Regions from separate parts of the Homo sapiens genome. Here regions 2 and 3 are each linked to region 1. The links are contacts of gene promoters, found by promoter capture Hi-C in blood cells and fetal thymus (Javierre and others, 2016). All regions are on one chromosome and are shown on one strand. The core of a region is centred on a gene start or on the middle of the fragment in contact, and the rest is flanking DNA. Distances in the headings are between cores, read along the strand shown.

Evidence for each region. The method cuts DNA at HindIII sites, captures the fragments that hold promoters and counts their contacts. A CHiCAGO score of 5 or more calls a contact.
Region 2: a contact is called between a fragment that was not itself captured here and the fragment with the promoter of NSD3 in region 1, in 10 of 17 cell types (erythroblasts, non-activated CD4 T cells, megakaryocytes and 7 more). The highest score is 9.8, in erythroblasts.
Region 3: a contact is called between a fragment that was not itself captured here and the fragment with the promoter of NSD3 in region 1, in 4 of 17 cell types (endothelial precursors, M2 macrophages, M1 macrophages and 1 more). The highest score is 10.6, in endothelial precursors.

The regions. Positions count from the first base shown.
Region 1 is chr8:38,380,664-38,384,888 of GRCh38, forward strand. It overlaps NSD3 (nuclear receptor binding SET domain protein 3), which reads right to left and starts at 1,608. Exons shown (of 24, transcript NM_023034.2): 1 at 1,136-1,608. It also overlaps a transcript of LETM2 not described here. RefSeq lists enhancers at 131-665, 956-1,746 and silencers at 1,395-1,794, 1,825-1,974, 2,165-2,514. The HindIII fragment of the contact is 5,398 bases long and covers 1-4,225 here.
Region 2 is chr8:38,078,790-38,082,911 of GRCh38, forward strand. No RefSeq gene overlaps it. Among named protein-coding and RNA genes, the nearest start is that of ASH2L, 25 kb to the right of the region's middle. The HindIII fragment of the contact is 2,370 bases long and covers 492-2,861 here.
Region 3 is chr8:38,691,436-38,695,896 of GRCh38, forward strand. No RefSeq gene overlaps it. Among named protein-coding and RNA genes, the nearest start is that of TACC1, 94 kb to the right of the region's middle. The HindIII fragment of the contact is 3,065 bases long and covers 431-3,495 here.

The DNA of each region.
Region 1 (4,225 bases), core at 358-2,857:
GTAGTGATGGAAAACATCACTACCTCCTTTGGCGGTTATGAATAATTTAAAATGACCCAAGACGTAAGGGGAAAAGAGTTCATGAATAGAAAGAAAGGGGGCTAACAGTCTGAATTGGCCCCTTCCAGATTCATACTGATGTCGGAGAGGAAAAGGAATTTATTTACACTGCAGTGCCTTGGCAGCAAACATGGCTGCCCCTGCCCCCTTTAAATCGAAATAATCTTCACTCCCTCCCCAAAACCATCAAATTATGGCCATGTCTCTCCCTGCCTCCCTTCCATAACACAAACACATCGCCTTCTCCCTCAAAACAGTAAAACCCACACCTCCCCATTTCACAACAATCACAATCCCATAACCACCAGCTTCTCTATTCTCTAGCCTTGAAAGAAAGACACAGAATACACACAAATACAGGAACAAAAGGCCTCCCTTCCTAACACTTTAACGACCTCCATCCCCTTCTCTTCCTCCCACTCTGACGCTAAGTCGATCGTTCTCATCCCTGTCATCATTCAGTTAATTTCCTTCCCTAGCCCAATCCTGTCTTCCAGTTTCCTGCGTCTATTTCCCATTCTCCTATTGCAGCCTGCCTCATCCCCTTTCCTAATCCACCTTTTCCTTCACTTCCATTCCTCATTTCTCCCTTCATTCCCATAAAATGCCCCATTTCTCCAGCAAATTTATCCCCTTCTCCCAGACTCTTCTGGTTCCTACACTCCATCCCCAAATCTCCCTATTTATCAGTCCACCCAGGTCTGTAATCTCCATGCAACTCTTCTCCCCTTTCCCTGCCCCTCCCCGATCCATCCTTATCCCCGCCCCCATCCCACTTTCCCAATTCCCAGCTCAGCGCCACTCCGACTCCCATCCCACTCCCCACCTCCCCTGGCCCACCCCCCAATTCCCTCCACACCCCCCACCTTGCCATCTGCTCCTCCGTCAGGACTCCCCTCGAGCCCTTTCAGGCCACCCGCTTCCCCTTCCATTCCTCCTGGGGTCTGGCGCTCCATCCCTAGGTCGCCCCCTCCCCGTCGTTCCCTCCTCAGCCCTTCCTAGCACTACACACGCGCGCGCGCGCACACACACACACACACACACACACACATACACACACGCACACGCACTTTACCTTCAGTTTGTTCCATTCTAACCCCCCGGCCGTGTCAGTGCGATCACAGGAGAGACACGGAGGCCCGGAGTGGGGCTGGGGTGCGGGCAGCCGCTGGGGCCGCGCGAGGAGGAGGCGGAACCGAGCTAGGCCGCATGAAATCCCCGGGCTAGATTTTCCCCGCGCCGGACGCCTCTGCCATGGCGGCCGGCACTGAGGAGGGCCACGGCCGGGCCGGGCCGGGCGTGCTGCGGGAAGAGGAAGGCTCGGGAGGTGGGATGGGAAGGGGAGGCCGAGGGACGGGGGTCGCCGCGCCGCCGCTGCTGCCAGAGAGGAGCCTGCGGCTGGCAGCCCGGCCTGGGTAGCACGGTCCTCGGCGCTCGGCTCGGAATTCGCACGCCTCTCCGCGGCGACCTGTGCACAGCCCCCTCGGCCTCCGCCTCCGTGCTGGCCGCCGCCGCCGCCTCTCCCGCCGCCGCCGCGCACAAAGCCCCCCCACCCCGACTCTCGGGGCGCCGCCGCCGCCAAATCCTCAGCCCCTCATTGGCCGCGGGCCGCGGCGCCTGCCGGGAAATGCAGTCCCTGGTTCGGGACGCTGGGGCTCCGGAGGAAGCGGCGAGTCGGCGGGGCGGAGGGGGCGGGAGCGCGAACCAGGAACGCCCGCGGCAGCTAGCGTCTGGACGACTAGGGAGACCGGGCGAGAGGGCCGAGGAACGAGGGACGGGGAGGGACTGTACGTGGGAGAGTGACACACAAAACACCCCGGGAAGCCGGAGGAGGCGTGGAAAGGTGGGGCCCGGGAGGTAAAACTGGGATCGGCGCGTTCAGTGAGGCTGATTAAAGAACAACGCGCAACCAGCGCCATACGGCGCTCCTCAGGGTGACTCGGCTCTCTAGCTCTTAAGGGTTAGAAGCGACCCTCGCACGGTCCCCGGTGGGTCACCGCGCGAGGGCGGGGCAGTCCAGGCGACCCCTCGGCCGTCTCCCGTCCTACGGCTGTCAGGGAAGGGCTCCGGTTCCGGTAGGGTCTGCATTTGGAAAGCCGGGGGCGATGCAAGACCGCCTTGGCGTCGTCTCCCTCTCAGCCCCGGCTGAGCTGTCGGATGGTCCCCCTCCCCCGGTTGCAAGCAGTAGGAGACCCGGCCGGCGGCGCCGGCTCGCCGAGGGAGCGCCTCGACCTCCCCGGCAGGCGCCGGCCCCGCGCGCCTCTTCCTGCTCTGCTGCGGCCCGGAGGCTTGTGGGTAACCGGGAGGACGACGTCAGCGCCCGCCGCATCCCCGGGTGCCCCCCAGCCGCGGGGGACCGCGACGGCTCCGTGACCGTCACGTGCCGGAGGCCGCGGCTGCTCGCGGCCAGACCTTCGCATCGAGGGACGTGAGGGACATTTGTCCTAGAGGGCCCAAGATAAGAACGAGAGGAAGAACCGGGAGGCAACTCTCCGTCATCCTCTAGCCCCCCGCATCCTAGGAAACGTATGGAAAACAATGGAAGGTTAAGTGTGTGCACAGTGATCTGGCCCTGCAGGAGTGTGCCGACCAGGTGATATTTCCTGGGGCCTGGTGATAAGGATTTGGAAGGTTACAGCACAGAGACGTGAACGTAAAAAGGAAACAGAGGCAGCAAGCAAATGAGGAAACCGATACTCTGTTCTGAGAATAAAGCCATTTTACCGCTAGACGTCATACTCTGTAGACGTTATAGTGCTGGATGTCTTTGGTACTATTACAAGAAATTAGATATCTCTATCTTTAAATATCACTTAAGGAAATTAAATGATTTCTACAGATCAGTTATTTAAAAGGGCACTAATTATGAACTATTTTTTTTAAACGTAACCCGGTTAATACTAGATACTGAGAATTATCAGTATTGGCTGGGCGCAGTGGCTCACGCCTGTAATCCCAGCACTTTGGGAGGCCGAGGCAGGCGGATCACGAGGTCCGGAAATCGAGACCATCCTGGCTAAGACGGTGAAACCCCGTCTCTACTAAAAATACAAAAAATTAGCCGGGCGTGGTGGGGGGCGCCTGTAGTCCCAGCTACTCAGGAGGCTGAGGCAGGAGAATGGCGTGAACCCGGGAAGCGGAGCTTGCAGTGAGCCGAGATCGCGCCACTGCACTCCAGCCTGGGCGACACAGAGAGGCTATGTCTCAAAAAAAAAAAAAAAAATCTCATTACTATTAATCATTAAATATTTTTAAACGTATGCTTTAAGTAGTACCACAAGTTACAGCTATCAGTAAAAGCATACTTTTTATTTGTGATATGACATTTTAAAACACAGATGGCCAAAGCGGGCCACCAAGTCTAGCTTAATTCTATCTCCAGGAAAGAGGGATTAAATTGGTCTTTTTTTTTTTTCTATGAGCCTTTCTACCTCCATTCTTCTTTTTCTTCCTCCTGTGTCTTCCTTGCTTTGTTGATAAACTGTTGCCTTGACCCGGCACCTGGGTTTCTCCCTTGAGGAGAATCTAGTAAATTGTCCCCAGGGATCTTATATTAGCCTGTTTCTAATAGCTATGCTGACAGCAAGAGTTTAAAATTGGAGTTATGTGAAGTAGATGCATAGTCTTTTCCTGCAAAACATTACAAAATACAGTTAGTATACTTGATCTGGTGGCATATTTAGGAAAATGGCCATTAAAAATAATAGTTTACATTTTCAGTATCTAACATCTTCTGAGGTTTAGACGATGCTTACTGTTCGCCATAGAAAATGAACAAGGAGCTCATTAAGACAGCAATCTAACACAATTCTCAGGGCCAGAGTCATGGAGGAAAAAATATTTTTTTAAAAATTTCTCTTCTGAAGATTACATACAGAATCTTACATGATAAATCTCTTATCCTGAAAGTCAAAGAAATTGCCAAGTCTCATAACTAGGGAAGACGGACATTACTTTGAACAGATATCTCAATAAGAAGAGTTCTTAGCCCTTCCCTTTTTAGGATAGGATTGCTGACATATGGCCATGGTAGAAAACCTAGCTCATCTTTCAAATACTGGGCATGGAATCGTTCATCTGGTTTATGAATACTTAATGATATTCACTGTGCCTGGTTGTAAGTGAATACAATGCATGAATAAGAATATTTCCCCGTATAAAATGT
Region 2 (4,122 bases), core at 427-2,926, 300 kb before region 1:
TGAGACTCCATCTCAAAATATATATACCCACCTTTTATGGAGCTCACCTTTTCCTAATAATAATAAGAAGAAAACTCTTTTTACTGTGTTTGATGGGACTCAGATATCTGGTTACTGGAAGTAGAAGTAACCAGGAATGCTTAGTTGGCTCAGTGTATAAACACTAGAAATGAAGGCCCAGAAGCTTCAGCAGAGACTGAATGACTGCTCCATTGAGATGAACTACCGCATAATTATCTTCATCATGACTTTAACAAACACAGAAAGCTTTGTTTTGCTTAATTGATGATAACAACATGGGGGCATCGTAGTGGGGGAGAGAGTGAGTCCTTGGAGTCGAGTCCAGGGCATCTGACCCACTGTTCTTTGTTAGGAGAGAGCCTAGAGGCCTTCAACAAAGGCTGTGTTGGAGGAAAAACTGAAGCTAAATTAATATTTAAATGGAATAAACTGAAGCTAAATTAATATAAGTAGAGAGTTTATTTGCACCAAGCTTGAGGATTGTAACATGGGAGCACAGATTTAAGTTTCCTGAATATACATTCCAATTAGCAGCAGTTACAAGTGGATTTATTTATTTATTTATTTATTTATTTTTTGAGAGGGAGTTTCGCTCTTGTTACCCAGGCTGGAGTGCAATGGCGTGATCTCAGTTCACCACAACCTCCACCTCCCAGGTTCAAGCAATTCTCCTGCCTCAGCCTCCTGAGTAGCTGGGACTACAGACACGCACCACCATGCCTGGCTAATTTTGTATTTTTAGTAGAGACAGGATTTCTCCATGTTGGTCAGGCTGGTCTCGAACTCCCAACCTCAGGTGATCTGCCTGTCTCAGCCTCCCAAAGTGCTAGGATTACAAGCGTGAGCCACCATGCCCAGCCACAAGTGGACTTTTTTTTGTTTTTTGAAACAGAGTTTTGCTCTTGTCGCCCAGGCTAGAGTGCAATGGCTCAATCTCGGCTCACTGCAACCTCTTTCTCCTGGGTTCAAGCGATTCTCCTGCCTCAACCTCCCGAGTAGCTGAGATTACAGGTGCCCACCACAACACCTGGCTAATTTTTGAATTTTTGGTAAAGATGGGGTTTCACCATGTTGGCCAGGCTGGTCTTGAACTCCTGACCTCAGGTGATCCACCCACCTCAGCCTCCCAAAGTGCTGGGATTACAGGTGTGAGCCACCGTGCTGGTCCACAAGTGGATTTTTAAAGGGAAAGAAGAGGCAGTTCCTGAGTTGTTTACCAAGAATTTCCATCAAAATAACATAAGCTGCTGATTGGCTATATACATTGTTAAGCTATAGGGTGTGGGTTATAGTGGCTGTTGCAGCACTGTTAGGTTAATTTATGGCTACTTTTAGCAATAGCAAGCAATTTCAAGAGATGAACACATAGCTCAAAATGGGGTGGGGGAAAGTAGGACGTGATTGCTATTTCATTTTAATGCCTCTTTGGGCCTGATAATTTAAAAGGACTCCCATGCATCAGATAAAACTTATTTTCTTACCTGGTACGGGGATGGGACATAACTTGTTTTCATACAAGTTCTCTCCCTTGGGTATTGAAGGCCCTGTGGTCAGTACAGGCTGGGAGCAGTGGCTCACGACTGTAATCCAAGCACTTCGGCAGGCCAAGGCAGGAGGATCGCTTGAGTCCATGAGTTCAAGACCAACCTGGGCAACATAGTAAATCCTGTCTCTACAAAAATTTTAAAATTAGCCAAGTGCGATGGCACACACCTGTAGTCCCAGCTACTTAGGAGGCTGAGTGGCGTGAACACATCTCACTGCAACCTTGACCTCCTGGGCTCAAACAATCCTCCTGCCTTGGCCTCCTGAATAACTAAGGCTACAGGCATGCACCATCACACTCGGCTAATTTTTTTTCTTTTTTTTTTGAGACAGAGTCTCACTCTGTCACCAAGGCTGGAGTGCAGTGGTGTGATCTCAGCTCACTGCAACCTCCACCTCCCGGGTTCAAGCAATTCCCCTGCCTCAGCCTCCTGAGTAGCTGGGATTACAGGCGCCCGCCACCATGACCGGCTAATTTTTGTATTTTTAGCAGAGACGGGGTTTCACCATGTTGTCTAGGCTGGTCTTGAACTCCTGACCTCAAGTGATCCACCTGCCTTGGCCTCCCAAAGTGCTGGGATTACAGGCGTGAACCATCACGCCCAGTCCAGCTAATTTTTTAAATTTTTTGTAGAGTCGGGGTCTCACTATGTTGCCCAGGCTGGTCTCCAACCCATGGGCCCAAGTGATCCTCCTAACTTGGCCTCCCAAAGTGCTGAGAGACAAAGCAGGGACCGCACCCTCCCTCTCCACTCCCCCACCTACTTGTTAGAGGCCTGCCAAGTCCCTCCCAAGCGTGGAAATAAAGGAAAATCTTGAGTTCCCTCAAAGAAAATTCCAAGCACCTAGCTAGCCTTGATAAATAAACGAGCAACGTGATAAGCAAGAATGTAATAGTAGCCTAAAACAACAGCAAAGGAAGCTAGAGCCAGGAAATGTTTGGTTCCCTATGTAAACTGAAGATAACATCTTAGCGCGTGTCCCTGAACTGTTTTTCAGAGACTGGACCCCCACCCAATGGATCTGCTGGCACACAGACCTCAGATAAGGAGAAACTGAGGACTGAACTCTGACAGCTGTCCTTTATTCTAAAGTTCTTCCTGAGGGGCCTAGAGCAAGTCACAGTCACAACATTGAGCTAACATTCTTTTCTTCTGACCCCAAATTTTTCTCCCTTAAACAATTGCAAATCAGAAAATCTTTGAATTTACCTGTTGCTTGTAACACCCCTACATTCCCCCGAACCCTCCTCGCCTTCAAGATACCCGACTCTTTTAAGCCAAAACCAATGTGTAAGCTTCATGTACTGACTTATGACTTTGCCTGTAACTTCTGCTTTCCCGAATTTTACCCCTGCCTTTAAGAACCCTTACCTGCAAGCTACTGGGGAAGTCAGGATTTGAGAGCGAGCTACCTGGTCCTTCCTGCTTGGTGCACTGCAAATAAATGTCTTCCTTTCTGCTGTTGCGGGACAATCAGAGACGGGAAAGACGAACAGAGTTCAGGAAAGCCTTTATTAAGGTGATCACCTGGCTCAGTAGGACTAGCATCCAGGAAAGTCTGAGCCTCGGCAAAGAAAGCAGCCACCTTTTAAGCAGTCAGTGGCTGAGAGCTACCTGGTGCAGGAAGCGTACTTACAGAAGTGAGAACAAAGGCAGTTGATCAGTCTTTTACATTTATGTATACTACATGTTCTACATCCTTGGGAAACTCTGTTTCTGTAACATACGCTTATCAACCTTGTAACTTTGCAGCTGCGCTAGGGAGGTGAAGCAGGAACTCGCTGAGCCTCAAGGAATGTGAAACTGGTGAGTACAGATAAGGCTTGCTGAGCACAGAAGGAAAAACAGGCAGTTAGTATTGTTCTCTAACTTAGACTACGTGGGGTGCAGGTTCTAAACTACATTTAGCTTTTGAAGGAAAAAGTAAAAATTTCTTGGTGGTCTTTGATTGTACTTGTAAAATTCATGAATTCCTTCTTCATCCCCCCCCCTTTGGTGCTCGCCATAAATGTAGATTGATAAAGAGCACCACAGTCGTTTATCTCTTCCTGTGTAGGCACGTATTCTTCCTGGGGGACTGGTTGGTATTTTTGTAATGCCATTATTTTGGTGGTAGTTGTTCCGTCCACTATTGCTTTAATAGTAGACTGGATGCTTCTGATGAGGAGAGGTAAAAGACAAGGCAGTATTAGACATCCTCCTACTATAGCTATAAAAACAATTATCAAGGTTTTAAAGCCTTCCAAGCATGAGAACCATCCTCCAAAAAGTGAGTTTGGGCTCCACCAGGACCAAGTCTGGACTGGGACATGGGCTAACTTCCTCATTCTAGCAGTAATTTCCATAACAGCTCTTCTGTTATTATCGATTTGTAAGCAACAGTTGGTCAAATTAAGCTTGCCACAAACTCCTCCTTCTGAGGCTAGGAGGTAGTCTAATGCTAGCCTATTTTGGTATATAGCATCTCTCATTTGAGTGGCCTGTAAAGCTAACAGATCCAAGGCTTGGGGTGTTTCATTGACTATGACTTCTGTACTGCTTGCAATCTTATAAT
Region 3 (4,461 bases), core at 713-3,212, 310 kb after region 1:
TTGACCTTGGACCAGAATGGAACAAAGATTTTAACTTAACAACCCCTTCATCTGCTAATGAGAGGACACCTCTTGCACTTCAGCTTCCTCTCTCACTTGAATGTTTTTTTGGTTCAGTTTTAATTTTTTGTATTATATTCATTTATGTGCTCAATTTAGGTATTGAAAGTTCTAACTGTTGCCTGCAGAAAGGGTACAAGCCTCACAACTTTTGCCATGAATATGCATAGAGATTGACCTTTGGGAACCATTGTTCTACACTTCAGCATGGGGCCAATCTGAAATCAGGGTACATTTTCAAGCCATCAGGTACAACTTACAGCTCCATACACCAAGACCTGTCCTTGGCACCATTCCCCCTGGCCTGTGGCAATCACAGTAAGTGGAACTGGCTCCAGTTCTGGATCCGGCCTTAAAGCTCTGAGCAAGAAGCTTTGTCTGCCACTTCCGGTTTCCAGTAATCCTCATATGAGTAACCATCAGGAATAAAGCACATTCAGAATGCCTAAAAAATAAAATGTAACTACAGAACATTTCAGAATGTGTGGCTTTATCTTTTACTTCACAGAGTATTGAGGTGACATTTGGAAATCACAATTAAAGTACAATTTAGTGCTATTAATATGGATTTAAAAGATAGAAAACCACTAGTTTGGTTCTTGACATGAATTTTTTTTCCTTTCTTTCTTTTTTTATTAGAGATAGGGTCTTGCTCTGTCACCCAGGCTGGAATGCAATGGTTTGGTCCTTACTCACAGCAGCCTTGAACTCCTGGGCTCAAGTGTTCCTCCCACCTCAACCTTGCCACATATTTTAAACTGACACTACTCACCCTCTCCAAATTCTTTATTAAATCAGAATGGGGGAAGACAGGGTCAGAAATCTACCTCCTACTCTAAAAGTACAGGCATTTTCATGTGCATTACAAGCATATTAAAATATATATGCATTTTGAATTTAGCTGTGTTTAAATGGATTCACCACATTAATGAAACCACTGTCACAGGGTTAACTGGAATTATAAGCCAGGCTTTAGGCAGAATTATAGCTAGGCATTGTCTGGGATATAAAAACTGATGCACTTTGACCCATTTCTCTGCAGCTGCTAAGTAACCAGAAGTCATGTAGCTCACTGACCACGTGCTCCCCCATTGTTCCCATAGATAGAATCTCTAACGACTGTACCTTTTTACCCAAGAATTGCTTTGCTTGAGGTGTTTTTCAGATCCTGAATTCCAGCAGAATGGCTGACTCCAGCTGGTCTGAAGACCCCCATCAAGGAACTGACTCAGCACAGGAATGCAGTTTCTTTATCTCCCTGTCCCATGATGTCACCCCTCACTTCTCAATCAGTGATGATCATACTTTTTAGTCCTTTACCAAACAAGATCCCTTAAACACTCCATCCCCAAACCTCTTGCGGGGGCAGATTTGAGGTTTTTTCCCATGTCCTCATTTGGCTGCCTTGCAATTGTTAAACTCTTTCTCTGCTGCAACTCCTGCTGTTCCAGTGTATTGGTATGTTACCACACAATGGGCAATTGAACCTGGTGGTCCTGTAACATTAACATCTGACTTAATTATTTTACAGCAGTGTATCTGGGAATGAAGTTGTGGTTTTCAGTCTCCCAGCTAGCCTGCCTACCACAGTAGATTTGGATAGAGGAAGCAAAATAACATAAGTAATTTCTAACAAGATCCTACTTCTCTTGCAGCGGCAAATTTTCAGTAAGGGTAACTGTACCTTTTTGACTTTGAAAATAATTACCTAATAAAAATTAAAAACCTACTTTGGGAGGCCGAGGCAGGATTACTTGAGGACAGAAGTTCAAGACCACCCTGGAAAACATAGAAAGACCCTGTCTCTATAAAAATTTTAAAAATAAAAAAATTAGCTGAGTGCAATGACATGTGCCTGTAGTCTAAGCTACTCAGGAGGCTGAGTGGGAAGGATTGCTTGAGTCCAGGAGTGTGAGTCCAGGACTGTGACCTTGACATGGTTTGGCTATGTCCACATTCAAGTCTCATCTTGAATTGTAGCTACCATAATCCCCATGTATTGTGGGAGGAACCCAGTGGGAGGTAATTGAATCAAGAGGTAGGTTTTTCCCATGCTGTTCTCATGATAATGAATATGTCTCCCGAGATCTAATGGTTTTATAAAAGGTAGTTCCCCTGCACACGCACATGCTCTCTTGCCTGCCACCATGTAAGACGTACCTTTGCTCCTCCTTTGCCTTCTGCTATGATTGTGAGGCCTCTCCAGCCAGGTGGAGCTGTGAGTCCATTAAATCTCTTTTTCTTTAAAATTACTCAGTTTTGGGTATTTCTTCATAACAGTATGAGTCAAACTAATACAGACCTATAATCATGCCACTGCACTCTAGCCTGGGCAGTGGAACAAGATCTTGTCTCTAAAAAAAAGGAAAGAGAAAAAGAGAAAGAAAGAAAAACATTAAGAACCCTGAAAGACTTTAGCTTAAAGTTCTGCAAAGTAGAAAAACACAATTTGGTCCCAGTGAACTCTTTCATCTCACTATTGCCAGACTCTGGGTTCTGCATTCTCAGCTAATTCAGAGAAGTAGATTTCTGCAAAGACAATTCTATACAGAAGTATAAATCCTTCTGCAGTTCCAGCCCAGGGATTCATGAGAGGTTTACCCCCATCATCCTTTCCTCTTTCTCCCAGTTCTAGTAAGAAGACAGCTTGGAGGCCAGCCATGGTGGCTTACGCCTGTAATCCCAGCAGTTTGGGAGGCTGAGGCGGGTGGATCACCTGAGGTCAGGAGTTCAAGACCAGCCTGGCCAACATGGTGAAACCCCGTCTCTACTAAAAATACAAAAAATACAAAAGATAAAATACTAAAAATACAAAAAATACAAAAATTAGCCAGGCATGGTGGCAGGCACCTGTAATTCCAGCTACTCAGGAAGCTGAGGCAGGAGAATCGCTTGAACCTGGGAGGCGGAGGTTGCAGTGAGCTGAGATTGCACCATTGCACTCCAGCCTGGGGGACAAAAGTGAGACTTTGTCTCAAAAAAAAAAAAAAAAAAAAAAGACAGTTGGGCACCATGAGGAATTTGCTTATGTGCATCATTCTGCTGTCATCAGCTGAATGCCACCTCATTTTGGGCACAAGATAGATACTGTCAGTCACTGCAAACCATGTCATCAATGATGTCAAGAGAAAAACAGTTTTCCCTAATTCTCTTTCTAGGTTCCTTCTATCCAGTGTACTAAAACTCCCATAGCTATAGACAGGGCAGCTGGATAATTTCAGGCTCACAAATGGATAGAGCAGCACTGTATCCCATCACATAAGGGTTGGTCATTTCTCATTTACAGTGCATTGCAAAGAGCCTAGGTAGGGAGGCTGAGTGTGTCTTAACTCCCATTTGGATAATTGGCACTCAGAGTCTATGCAAAGAAAAGAAAGATCAGTTAATAAACTCTCATCACTGCCCAACATCCTGTACATCCGAAGTGACCTATGAAGCTTCTTTTACTTTCTGGGGCCCCAAAAACATGCCACCAACTGATTCAGGATCAGAACCAATGAGTCCAGGATAAACAGGTCGTTGGGGATCCTTGCCTTCCCTGGGGGTTGGGTTGGTCTGCTTGGCTGATCTGAGTCTGGAGTCTGGTGTGCCTGGGATGAGCACCTCCAGAGACTGAGTGTCACCCAGAACATTTGCCCTGCCTCCAGCCATCCCAGGGTTGACTTCACTGTTCCAGGCCCTTGAATTTGGTCATTTGGACTGTTGCTCCTCCCTGATAGGAATCTACCTTTTGTCCTCTTTCATAGTAGACAGGCTTGACCTCCTTCCAGTGACAGGTCATACAGGTGACCTGCCACCAGTCTCTATATGACTCACATTTACAAGATACTTGTATTAGAATAGGCTAGGTTGTGCTGTGATAAGAAATTAACCCCTGGATCCCAAAGCCGAAAACAAAAAAAGTTTATTTCTTGCATATGCTATATGTCCATTGCAAGTCCAAGTTGGGCATGTATGTGTTGAGGGAATTCTGCTCCATCAGTAACTCAAGGATCCAGGCTGATGGAGGCTCTACCATCAGTACCGGCAACAGCTAGGACATCTACAACACAGGACTCCTTCGGTCTCCTCGGCAGCCTGGACCTCTCTCCTGCGCTTCAGTGCTTCAGTAGGAGTGATCGGTGTCACTTTTGCTCACATCCCATTGGTATGGAGTCACCAAGCCCCATCTAACCAAAAAGGGCTGGGAAAGCTTGTCTTCTGTGTGCCTAGAGAGAGTGGGAAACCAGATTTTGGTGGGCACTAGTAATATCTACCGCAAGGTGTATACTTTTGTATATAATGAATAAATACCAGGCACCACAAGGAAGATGTCACTCTGAGCAGCACAGATGTTTCATGAATCCTCACAAGTTTGCCTCTGTAGCCTCAAGCAGGCACATGCAGTGTTCAGAGGATATT